Regions from separate parts of the Homo sapiens genome. Here region 2 is linked to region 1. Evidence: promoter capture Hi-C in 16 types of primary human blood cells and fetal thymus (Javierre and others, 2016). All regions are on one chromosome and are shown on one strand. The core of a region is centred on a gene start or on the middle of the fragment in contact, and the rest is flanking DNA. Distances in the headings are between cores, read along the strand shown. Region 1 holds the start of SDC2 (syndecan 2). Region 2 has its middle 80 kb from the start of MTDH.

Region 1 (5,475 bases), core at 2,124-4,623:
CATAATACACCGAGAGATAATGCATGGGCCCAAATGACTTGACAGTTTCTTTTAATTTACAGACATCTAAGAATGTTTATAAAATTCCTCTAGTTCAAAACACTTCCTTTTCTTAAACATATTTCCAGTTCAAATTATGTGTTTATAGCAGTCTGCAATATATTATTTCTAAAGATAAACAGTCATGTACAAAATGGACAGAAAACCAGCAGCATATCACTACTGCCACACTCAGTCAGATTTTCCCCTTGCCTGGTGCTCCGCAGCCAAAGTCCTAACCTGCCAGTGGAAAGTATGAATGGATCACTAGGAACAGGCTTTCCCAGCTGCCTCCAGGATCCATAAAGGAACAGCTACCAGTTCCTTTTCATAGGCAGTTTTGAGCCTTAGTTCCTGAGAACCTCTTTTTTACCCCCAGAGCTAAGTATAAAACTTAAGAATTCACTAACTGTAGGCAGTTTTCCTTTCTTCCTTTAAAGGGAGACTTTAAACCCAAATCACTACTTCTAAATCCCAGGAAACAGTTGCAGTTTTCAAATTAAAATGCAAAGTCCTGGAAATAATATTCTGTAATTGCTAATTTTTTTTTAAATTCAGTCTTTTGACTTCATTTATATTTTTGCTGCTATACATGAAACAAACGGAGACTGAAAAGTAATTTAAATGGACTGTTAGCCATTCTGGGCCTTGAAACAGCTTCTATTTAGAAAGACTGACTCACTGCCTAACAAAGATTCTCTGCTAGTCTCTAAGTTGACATTTTATAAATATCTAATCACCCTTTTTGGATGATTTTCCAATTACTGAAAACAGTGTCTATCACAATGAAGCAGTTCACTCGGAAAGCATCCAGTTCTGGTTCAAATTGAGAAATATTAGAACCCCAAAGATACACAGTTCAGGGGAAAGCTGTCACCGGGGAGGACAGGTATATAGTTCGGCCAAAAAACTTCCTTAAGGAGCACTGGTAGATTTATGCAAAAACCCAGAGGAGCAGAAGACAGAAACATTCTTTCTCCAGAATCCCAAAACAGTAACATTTCCTAGCAAATCCATGAATAAGACTCAGCAAAAAAAAAGGGCCTCCTTAACCATGTGCAGTTTTTTAGGCAGGCTCTTGAAATTTATTAGATGAAGTCCCTTTGCCCTGTTTTGCAACAAGAGGAGCAACAACGCTCATCTGAAATAAACAAGAGAACTGCTGCCTTTTGGTGTACAAAGAGCCAAAGTTCATCCTAACTGGCTGGGAGATAACTAATACCAACGGATTAAACCATCATTTGCCAAAGGGAAACACTGATAAGGCTGGGAGTTCTATTTTACAACCTGAGCACCCAAAATACTCATGTAGTCTGTACAGTTTCCAATTCTACATGCTCTCCAACCACAAAGAACGTATGGGGATCTGCTAGCACACACAGAGGCTCCCACACTGATTAAAAATGTCCATCTGCCGCTCGATGCCAAAGAGGTTTCCCAGTCCTAAATTAGCCTCAGCACAAAAAAGGGGGGGAGGGAGACTCAAACTCATAAAACTACCTAAAAGACCTTAAGATGATATAATTTGTCTTTGAAAAGACCATTCAATTAATTAGAAATTGACACGTTATTAAATGGCAAAGGGAGAGGACGTGGGGAACCAGAAGGGCCAGAAACAGCCGCACTCCCTGAGACCCCAGAGGGCACTGAGGCTGCAGACGAAATCTGGGGTGCTCAAGCTTCCACCTGGCCCGACAGAGCTCCTGGCGCCCAGGTGGAGGCAGCTGCGGACGAGAGGAGGCCAAGGAGGCAGTTCCCTTTAGAGGGCGCTCATTGGGCGACGTGGGGAAACAAGCTCCAGCCCCCGAAGCGCGACCAAAAGGAGAAATCAAGTTCCCACCGCCAGGGCGGGGGAGGGAAGCTGGGTGCCGGCAGGCGCTCCGCCGGAGACGAGACTCCTCCCGGCCCCAGAAGCGCCCCGCCAGGGCCAGAGAGGGCGAGCGTGGCGGGAGGGAAGCCTCTGTCCCCCAGCGGCCAGGCGACCCGAAGCCGAGCGCCGTGTCACACGTACCCCGCCTCGCCCTGCTTGCGGCACTCCCGTGTAACTCCTATGAAAATGTCCTCCCGTCCCTGACGCCCCGCGGTGCAACCTCCACCCCTCAACGAGGAGGGGGTCGCCGCAGGACTGGGAATCCAGTGGCCGGCGTCCCAGCATTTTCGGACGCGTTCCGTGCCTCCCCCAGTATCCCCTTGAGGGATCGCCTACTGCGATTCCACGTAGTGTCGGTTACCTCGCCCTAGCCGCAGGGAGCATCAAACAAAAGAACTTTTGCAAACTTTTCTCTCTGGACACTCGCGGGTCTCTTAAATCTGGCCCCCATCTCCCCAGAACTTGCATGCAGTCAAACAGGAAAGCTGGCGCGGGGGGGATGGTGTGCGGAGGAAGGGACCCCGAAGTTTCCAGGTCATCCCTGGTCTCGAGGAGCGCGCGGAGTGGAGCCGTTCCCTCGCGGGCCCGACCCAGGCTCCCCCCTCCTGCCACCCTTTCCCCTCCGTCCTTCCCAGACCACGCAGCAAGACCCGCCGAGGGCGAAGAAGTTGGGAGTGACTTCAGGGGCCTCTGCGGCTAGACCAAACCGCAATTCTCGGTGCCCCCATTCCCGCGGACCGCGGGGTAACGCCAGCGAGCAGCGCTTTTCTGAGGAAGGGAAGAGGGGGAAAGGGTGACCGGACGAGCGCATTTGTCCCAGCGGATCTCCGGTGTATACTTGGGGACTGGGGGTTCCCCAGGTGGCGCTCCCCTATTCCCTGCGGGCTCCTCTCGTAGCTTCAAACACCCTAAACGGCGCGCGCATCCTCCGCCTGGCCCACTCACCGACTCCGCCGACACGCAGGCCACCAAGCCCAAGGTGAGCAGGATCCACGCGCGCCGCATATTCCCCAGGGACCGGCTGCTCCCAGCCGCTGCTTGCAACCAGGGCAAAACGAAGCCTCCTGCCCAGCGCTCGGCGCAGCCCGCGCACACGAATCCGGAGCAGAGTACCGCAGCGATTGCGGCTCAGGCTCGGGGACTCGGGCTCGGGGCTCGGGGGCGCTCGCTTCCTCCTCCTGCGCCTGCTCCCGCCGCCCGCAGCTGCGCCCCGGGAACGCGGCGCCCTCTCACTTGTTGGTTTCTGCACTCCCGACACGGAGTTGGTGCTCCGGGAAGGCTGCTCTCTGAAGCTCTTCTTGCTCTGCTGTGGTTTTGCTCCTCCGCGGACTCCTTTCCCGTGCCGAGGTTCAGTTTCTGGTTTTAAGGAATAAATTCGCTGGCTTGAAAGGGAGCTACGGCAGAAGTTTAGGGGCAGAGCGGCGGGAGCGCGCGATCCGCGCGGCTGGAGCTCCGGGGGTATCTGGAGAGCAGCGCGTCCAAGCGGGGCCACTGGCTCCGCGGCTGCGCCCCTCCTCCTCCCGCGCCGCGCCTCCCTCCCCGGGTCCTCCTCCTTCTCCTCCTCTTCTTTTCCTCTGGCTCCCTCCCTCCTGAGCCTGCTTCTCCGGGCTCCCCTGGGCGACTGGGGAGAGGAGGCGGCAGTGTGACTCCCAGATAAACCCGGGAGAAATTCCTACAGGATTACACGCCGATTGGCAGCTCCGAGGACCAGTGGGCGCCGCGGCTCCGCGCTGTGGCTGCGCCGGCTCTGCTCACCGGCAAGCCAGGGCTCCTGCGTTTTCTCAGTCCTTTTCTTCCTTTCTCTCCCCACTTTTCCTCTCTCCTCTATGCTCTTTTCTTCCCCGTTGTCTTTTCTCTTTCCCTTCTTCACTTTCCCTTTTCTAGAGAACAATTAGTGAAGAAACGAGAGACGTATGTAGCTTTTCTGCCTTGAGAATTCGACCAGTAGAAAGAAACTGCTTTGTGAGTTGAGGGAAAAAAAAAGTGTAAGATGCTTTCAAGCAATGTGAAGTGTTCATAAATCGCCAGTTCATGAAAATTGCATTTTAAAAGAGAAGATAATTAATGTAATAAATATATAGTGAGAGTGTTTCCCATTCTCCCAAATCCTTCCGCACCCCCAAAAAAGGGACATGGAGGAAGGATCCTGTAAACCCAAAGTGCAACAGTTTGAAAGCTCCTAACTTCATTAAGGGCTTAAATACCATTTCTCCCTCACACACAGTTTATGCCACTAAGGCTTTTTATAGGCTCCATTTTAGCAGATAGGTGTTAACGTTTGGAAGCTACAAATAGGGTAATTTGATGAGAAGTTGGATAGAGACCCTGAATAATAACAGATTTAAGATAACTTCAAAGAAAAGAGGGATAAAGTAATTCTTAGTTTGAAGAAAATAATGAACATGTATTTCCTAAATGGAAGTAGCTGACATGAAATATTTTGTTACAATGTCTGTGGCATATTATAGAACATGGCAAATGCGTATTCCCTTCCAGTTTCTTTTTCTTACTGTCACAAATTTTACACACAAATCCCTTGCAGTTCGTGCCATCATTTTTCTCTCTGACTTATAGAGTAAATGAATTATGACGCCATTCTGCTCCTGGAATGCCCACTACAGGAAACCAGAGACTTTTCTGTCTGTTCACCATTGTATTCTCATTCCTGGTACATAAAGACACATGATAAATATTATCTTGAATAAATTTTGCTCTAAAGCTCAATTTATACCGTATAAGAGTTGTGAGCCTTTAAAATACACCAATGTAGATATATAGATATGAGGCCATGGTAATTTTTCAACTCAGTATTAGAATAAAATACAGTCATACCCTCAGTGAGAATTAAATGTCTTAGTAACCTATTACTGTAATAAATCTCAAAGAAAGAAATTTAACTGGAGAATTACAACTCAAACTTGGAGACACTTATTCCTTTGGTTTTGTGTGCCAGCTACCAAACCTACAAATGCTCATGAGCAAGTCTAAGGCATTGGCCAACAAAAAGGTAATATGGAGAAATAGAAGAGTAGGCAAAGGAGAAAGAAGAAAAAGAGCAATAGGCCAGAAGTTGTAACATCAGATGATGCTTCTGATTCCACAGACACTGTAGCTGGCATCTGTGCCAATGTGGGCTCCACTTAGCTTTTGAAAGAATGAACCACAGCCTTTTTTTTTTTTTTTTTTTTTTTTGAGACAGGGTCTCATTCTTGCCCAGGCTGGAGTGCAGTGGCCTGCACTGTAGCCTCTACCTCTCAGGCTCAAGCAGTCCTCCCACCTCAGCTTACCAAGTAGCTGGGACTACAGGCACAGGCCACCACACCAGCTAATTTTTGTGTTTTTTATAGAGACAGGGTTTTCCATTGTTGCCCAGGCTGGTCTCAAACTCTTGGGCTCAAGTGATCTGCCTGCCTCAGCCTCCCAAAGTCCTGGGATTAGACACGTGAGCCACCAGCCTAGTGCCCTTATTTTTAAGATGGAGTCTGTGGGTTGAAGAGGTTCATGAGATGGGGAGACTTCTTAAAAAGGCCTCCAAAGGAAAAGCAGCAATGCAAAATACATGCAAA
Region 2 (5,475 bases), core at 850-3,349, 1.1 Mb before region 1:
TCTGTGCCTTTGTGGGGAGTTAATGTATAGATCAATCATACTCTTTCTTTCTTTCTTTTTTTTTTTTTTTTTTGAAACAAAGAGTCTTGCCGTGTTACCCAGCCTGGAGTGCAGTGGCTTGATAACAGTTCACTGCAGCCTCCATCTCCTGGGCTCAAGTGATTCTTGAGCCTCAGCCTCCCAAGTAGCTGGGGCCACAGGAGTGCACCACCACACCCGGCTAATTTTTGAATTTTTTATAGAGACGGGGTTTCACCATGTTCCTCGGGCTGGTCTCAAACTCCTGACCTCAAGTGATCCACCTATCTCAGCCTCCCAAAGTGCTGAAATTACAGGCGTGGATAAACAATATTTTTTTGCACCAATTTACTCATAACTTTTTTAGAGGCTGGTGGGTTTCAGTTGTGGTTTTCACTCCCTTCTTAGACATGATCAACACATATTTTTTGATTCAACACTCATCATTCATTCATTCATTGCAGTACAGTGGTTAAGCATGTGGGTTTTAGTGTGCCAAATAAAACATTTAAAACATTAAAAATATATTGCTCCCAGCTGGGCACAGTGGCTCGTGCCTGTAATCCCAGCACTTTGGGTGGCTGAGGTGGATGGATCACTTGAGCTCAGGAGTTCGAGACCAGCCTGGGCAACAAAGTGAGATCCTTGTCTCTACAAAAAATAAAATAATTAGCCTGGTATGGTGGCATGAGCCCATAGTCCCGGCTACTTAGGAGGCTGAGGCAGGAAGATCACTTGAGCCAGGGAGATTGAGGCTGCAGTGAGCTATGATTGTGCCACTGCACTCCAACCTGGACCATAGAGTGAGAACCTGTATCTAAAAAACAAAACAAAGCCAAACAAAAGATTGTTCCAGCAGCTGGTTAGTCTGGGAAGCCCATAGAAGTGTGGCGGTGGAGCTTATGAATGCATTAGGAGAGCTATAGGGATTGGGAAGTTTACGAGTTGAATTGTGTCCCCTAGGAGATTCGTTGAAGTCTTTTTTCTTTTTTCATTTATTTCATTTTATTTATTTATTTATATATTTATTTATTTATTTATTTTTCCTTTTACAAACCCTTGTGTCAAGGGCTGACTTTCAATAGATCTCAGCAGGTAGCTGCTCTGCTACGTATGAAACCCCTACCCAGAAGCAGGTGGGCTACGAATGGTTTAGCGTCAGGTTCCCCACGTGAGGGTTGAGGGTGCAGCTGCCTTTCCAGCAGCACCCCGTTTCCCAGGACGTGGGGCTCTCTGCGCCGCACCCCTGTCCCGGCCATGTGAGGACAGAATAACAGCCATGTGAGGACAGAGGCAAACATTCTGCTGCCACAAGCCAAGGAAGGCCGGGAGGCTGCCAGAAACTGGAAGAGACTAGAAAGGGCTTTCCACGAGAGGCTTGGAGGGAGCATGACCCTGCTGACGCCTTGGGTGACAGCTGGGAAAGAGCCTGGTGGCTGTAGCCAGACTTCTAGCCCCAAGTACTGGGGCAGAAGAAATTTCTGTTGTTCTAAGCCAAGTTTGTGGTACTTTGTTATGGCAGTCAAAGAAACTAGGGGATTTAGTTCTTTAGAACCTGAGATGTAAAGGCAGCTTTCCTTGAAAAGGATATTATTTATACTTATTTCAAAGTTTGTATTAAAACACCTGCAGTCTGGGTACAGTGGCTCAAGCCTGTAATTCTAGCACTTTGGGAGGCTGAGGCAGGCAGATTGCTTGAGTGCCAGAGTTCAAGACCAGCCTGGGCAATGCGGCGAAACCCCGTCTCTAAAAATTACAAAAATTCACAGGGTGTGGTGGCAGGCAACTGTAGTCTCAGATACTCAGGAGGTTTAGGTGGGAGGATCACCTGAGACCAGGAGGTGGAGGCTGCAGTGAGCTGTGACTGTGCCACTGTACTCTAGCCTTGGTGACAGAGTGGGACCCTGTCTCAAAAACCATTCTGCAGAATAGGGAAACACTGATAGAAGATTTACAAAGCACAGTGGACAGTGGACATGGTTCAATTCTGGAATGGTCTAGTCAAAGAGGAAGACCTATGAAACCACATGAGAAAAGAACACTGGGTAACATTCACTGAAGGCTGAAGCGAATATTGAGGAGATGGTCTACACTATCCCAAGTGATTTATATGAAAGAATTTATTTAACCCTTTTAAACAATCCTTAGTTATGTATTATTATTATCTCCATGTTACAAATGAAGAAACAAGGTATGGAGAGGTTAAGCAACTTGCCGAAGGTTACTGTTAATAAGTAATAGGATGGGGATTTAAAACCAGGCAGTCTGGTTCCAGAGCTTCTGCTCCAAACCACGCCAGTGCTGGAGTTCTTTACCTGCACTTCAGCGTGGGGAGAGGGCAGAACATCTCCCACAGTGCCCTCCCCTTCCACTCCACTCATACCTGCAGTTGCTCTTTCCACAGCCACTGCCCTCAAACACTCTCTCTGCAAACATTCCCTGGTGCCATCTCTTCTTTTTCTTTTTGCTCAACTGATTTTTAAAAAATTGAGATAAAATTCACAAAACCTAAAATTAACCATTTTAAAGTGAAAAATTCAGTGTCATTTAACACATTCTTAATATTGTAGAACCATCACCTCTATCTAGTTCTGAAACATTTTATTCTCCCCAAATACAACCCCATGCCCATTAAGCAGTTACTCCTCATTCTCCCCTCCCTGAGCCCCTGGCAACCAACAATTTGCCACCTCTCTCTTTGGATTTAACTATTCTGGACACTTCCTATAAATGGAACCATACGATATGTGGCCTTTTGTGTCTTGTTTCTTTCAAGCAGCTTAATGTTTTTGAGGCTCATCCAGCATGTATCAGCACTTCCTTCCTTTTGATGACTGAATAATATTCCACGGTATGTAAAATACCACAGTTTGTTTATCCACTCATCTGTAGATGGGCTTTTGGGTTGTTTCTTGTTTTTGGCTATCATGGATAGTGCTGCTATAAACATGTGTGTACAAGTGTTTGTTTGAGTCCCTGTTTCCAGTTCTTTTTGGTATTTATGTGGGTATGGATTTGCTGTCATGCATTATTTTTCTGCTTAATTTTTGACCGGGCGACTCTTGTGTTTCTCATCTTTCCATACTGATTCCTTATCACACACACAGAAAAAACCCTGCTTGGAGGGTGGGGAAGCTGAAGGGCCTGAAGCAGGCCAAGGAGTAGGATCAGGGTCAAAAAAAAGCCTGCAACACACCCACATTAATCATCATTTACTTCACCTGTCACACTTAGTATGCGTGACTATTCTCAAGTTTGGGAATTAGGCCAAGTGTTTGCTCCTTAACACTGAATTGTAGAACTTTCAAGCTGGAAGAGACTGCAGAGATTTCCCAGTTTGGTGAGTTTTCAAACTTTCCTTGGCAGACTTCTCTCAGGCCTCTGGGGGAGGGCCCTGGGGTCCTCTCATCTCCCATTCTTTCCACCCCTTAACCATACTCTGGTTTTTATGTTTTACATTTTGGGTTTCTGGGTAAGATTTCACATGAAGAGCAGAGGAATGATATTTTAACATCTACTTTTCTCTTTTCTTTTCTTTTTCTAGGCAGGGTCTCACCTTGTTGCCTAGGCTGGAGTGCAGAGGCATGATCACAGCTCACTGCAGCCTCAACCTCCCCAGGCTCAGGTGATCCTCCTACATCAGCTCCTGAGTAGCTGGCACTACAGGTGTGTGCCACCATGCCTGGCTAATTTTTGTATTTTTTTGTAGAGATGGGGTTTCACTATGTTTTCCAGGGTGGTCTCGAACTCCTGGGCTCAAGTGATCTGCTTGCCTCAGCCTCCCAAAGTGCTAGGATTACAGGTGTGAGCCACCAAGCTGCCACTGGCCGAAATCTAATTTGTTGTTGTTCCTGGAACTTCCTTATACCCCTGGTTCCTTTATGCATTCAGTGAGTATGGCATTCTGTGTTCACTGCCTTAGAGAAAGGTGACAGAGAAAACAGAGGGACAAAGAAAGAAGGGTATTCTTGGGTTCTATGTTTCAGAAGCTCAGGCTTCAGAAAGAGCAGATTCCTGTGCGCAGACTAGAGATTTGGGAAGTGAGGAAGGGCAAGGGACTCTCAGAGCTGGAGGAGAGGTCAAGATGGAGAGGAAGAGAATTGGGAGGGAGGTCAGAGGGGCTGGGATGAGGGACCAGACTCCAGCAGGTGCAGAGTTGGCACCTAGAGGGTGTGATGCTCTGCTGGCTCAGCAGCCATTGATGAATGGCTCACTTATGCAGGCTGTCAAAAGAAGCCAAGACTCCCTTGCAGTGAGCGCTGCGTCCACCATAAGGAGGAGGTTGGTTAGCAGATTTCTTGTTGCTGTCTGGTGAGGACTTCCTCGTAGACAGCCATCTGCTGCATGCCCTAGCATGAGGACCTCCGAATCTGTGTCCTAATACTTTTCTCCTTCTTTTGACATATGCAGCCAGTGGCCTACTCAATTTCCACTCGCCTCGTTTCCCTTGCTTGTTATAGCTCCAATTTGCTTTGGGATGGTGTTGGGCCCATCAACAATTCAAAGTCATGTGGATAGTCTGGCCAATGCCTGTGAATGAAAGGTTTATATCTTCCACTCCATGAGGTTCTGGGAAAGCTACTGTTTTCCTAGGAAAATTAGGCAGACTCAGCGGGTGTGAGCCCTTTGCCTTCTCCTTTCTCCTCCTTCCTGCCTGAAATGGTGACATGATGCCTAAAGATGCCCCAGCCATCTTATGACCACTTGCAAAGATGACAGAGTGGGGAGGTAGCAGGAGCCTGTTCTGTGAGCAGCCCCATTAGGGCTGGCTTACCCAGTACTCGGTTTCCTGGTTACCTGAGAGAAATAAACCCCTCACTTAATCCACTATTTTTGCTTCTGAAACATGTACCTGAGCACAATTATGAAGTCCCCATGACTCTTCTTCTTCTTCTTTTTTTTTTTTTGATACAGCGTCTTGCTCTTGTCGCCCAGGCTGGAGTGCAATGGCACGATCTCAACTCACTGCAACCTCTGCCTCCTGGGTTCAAGCGATTCTCCTGCCTCAGCCTCCCAAGTAGCCGGGATTACAGGTGCCCACCACCATTTTTGTGTGTGTGTGTGTGTGTGTGTGTGTGTGTGTGTGTGTGTATTTGTGTGTATATATGTGTGTATGTGTATATATACGCACGTGTATGTACACACGTATATACACGTATATGTGTATATATATAAAAATATATAAATATATATACGTGTATATATAAAAATATATAAATATATACATATATGTGTATATATATGTGTATATATAATGTGTATATATACATGTGTGTGTATATATATATATATTTTAGTAGAGACAGGGTTTCACCCCGTTGCCCAGGTGGTCTTCAACTCTTGACCTCAGGTGATCTGCCTGCCTTGGCCTCCCAAAGTGCTGGGATTATAGGCGTGAGCCACCGCACCCGGCCCCATGACTCTTTTTTTTTTTTTAGTTTCTTTTTTTTTAAATTA

What was found. Contacts are between HindIII fragments. The CHiCAGO score rates a contact against its expected background, and 5 or more counts as called.
Region 2: a contact is called between a fragment that was not itself captured here and the fragment with the promoter of SDC2 in region 1, in 3 of 17 cell types (M0 macrophages, M2 macrophages and M1 macrophages). The highest score is 15.3, in M0 macrophages.

What each region holds. Positions count from the first base shown.
Region 1 is chr8:96,491,711-96,497,185 of GRCh38, reverse strand. SDC2 (syndecan 2) reads right to left here and starts at 3,373. Exons shown (of 5, transcript NM_002998.4): 1 at 2,855-3,373. The coding sequence starts at 2,914. The HindIII fragment of the contact is 13,490 bases long and covers 1,721-5,475 here.
Region 2 is chr8:97,561,305-97,566,779 of GRCh38, reverse strand. No RefSeq gene overlaps it. Among named protein-coding and RNA genes, the nearest start is that of MTDH, 80 kb to the left of the region's middle. The HindIII fragment of the contact is 8,862 bases long and covers 1-5,475 here.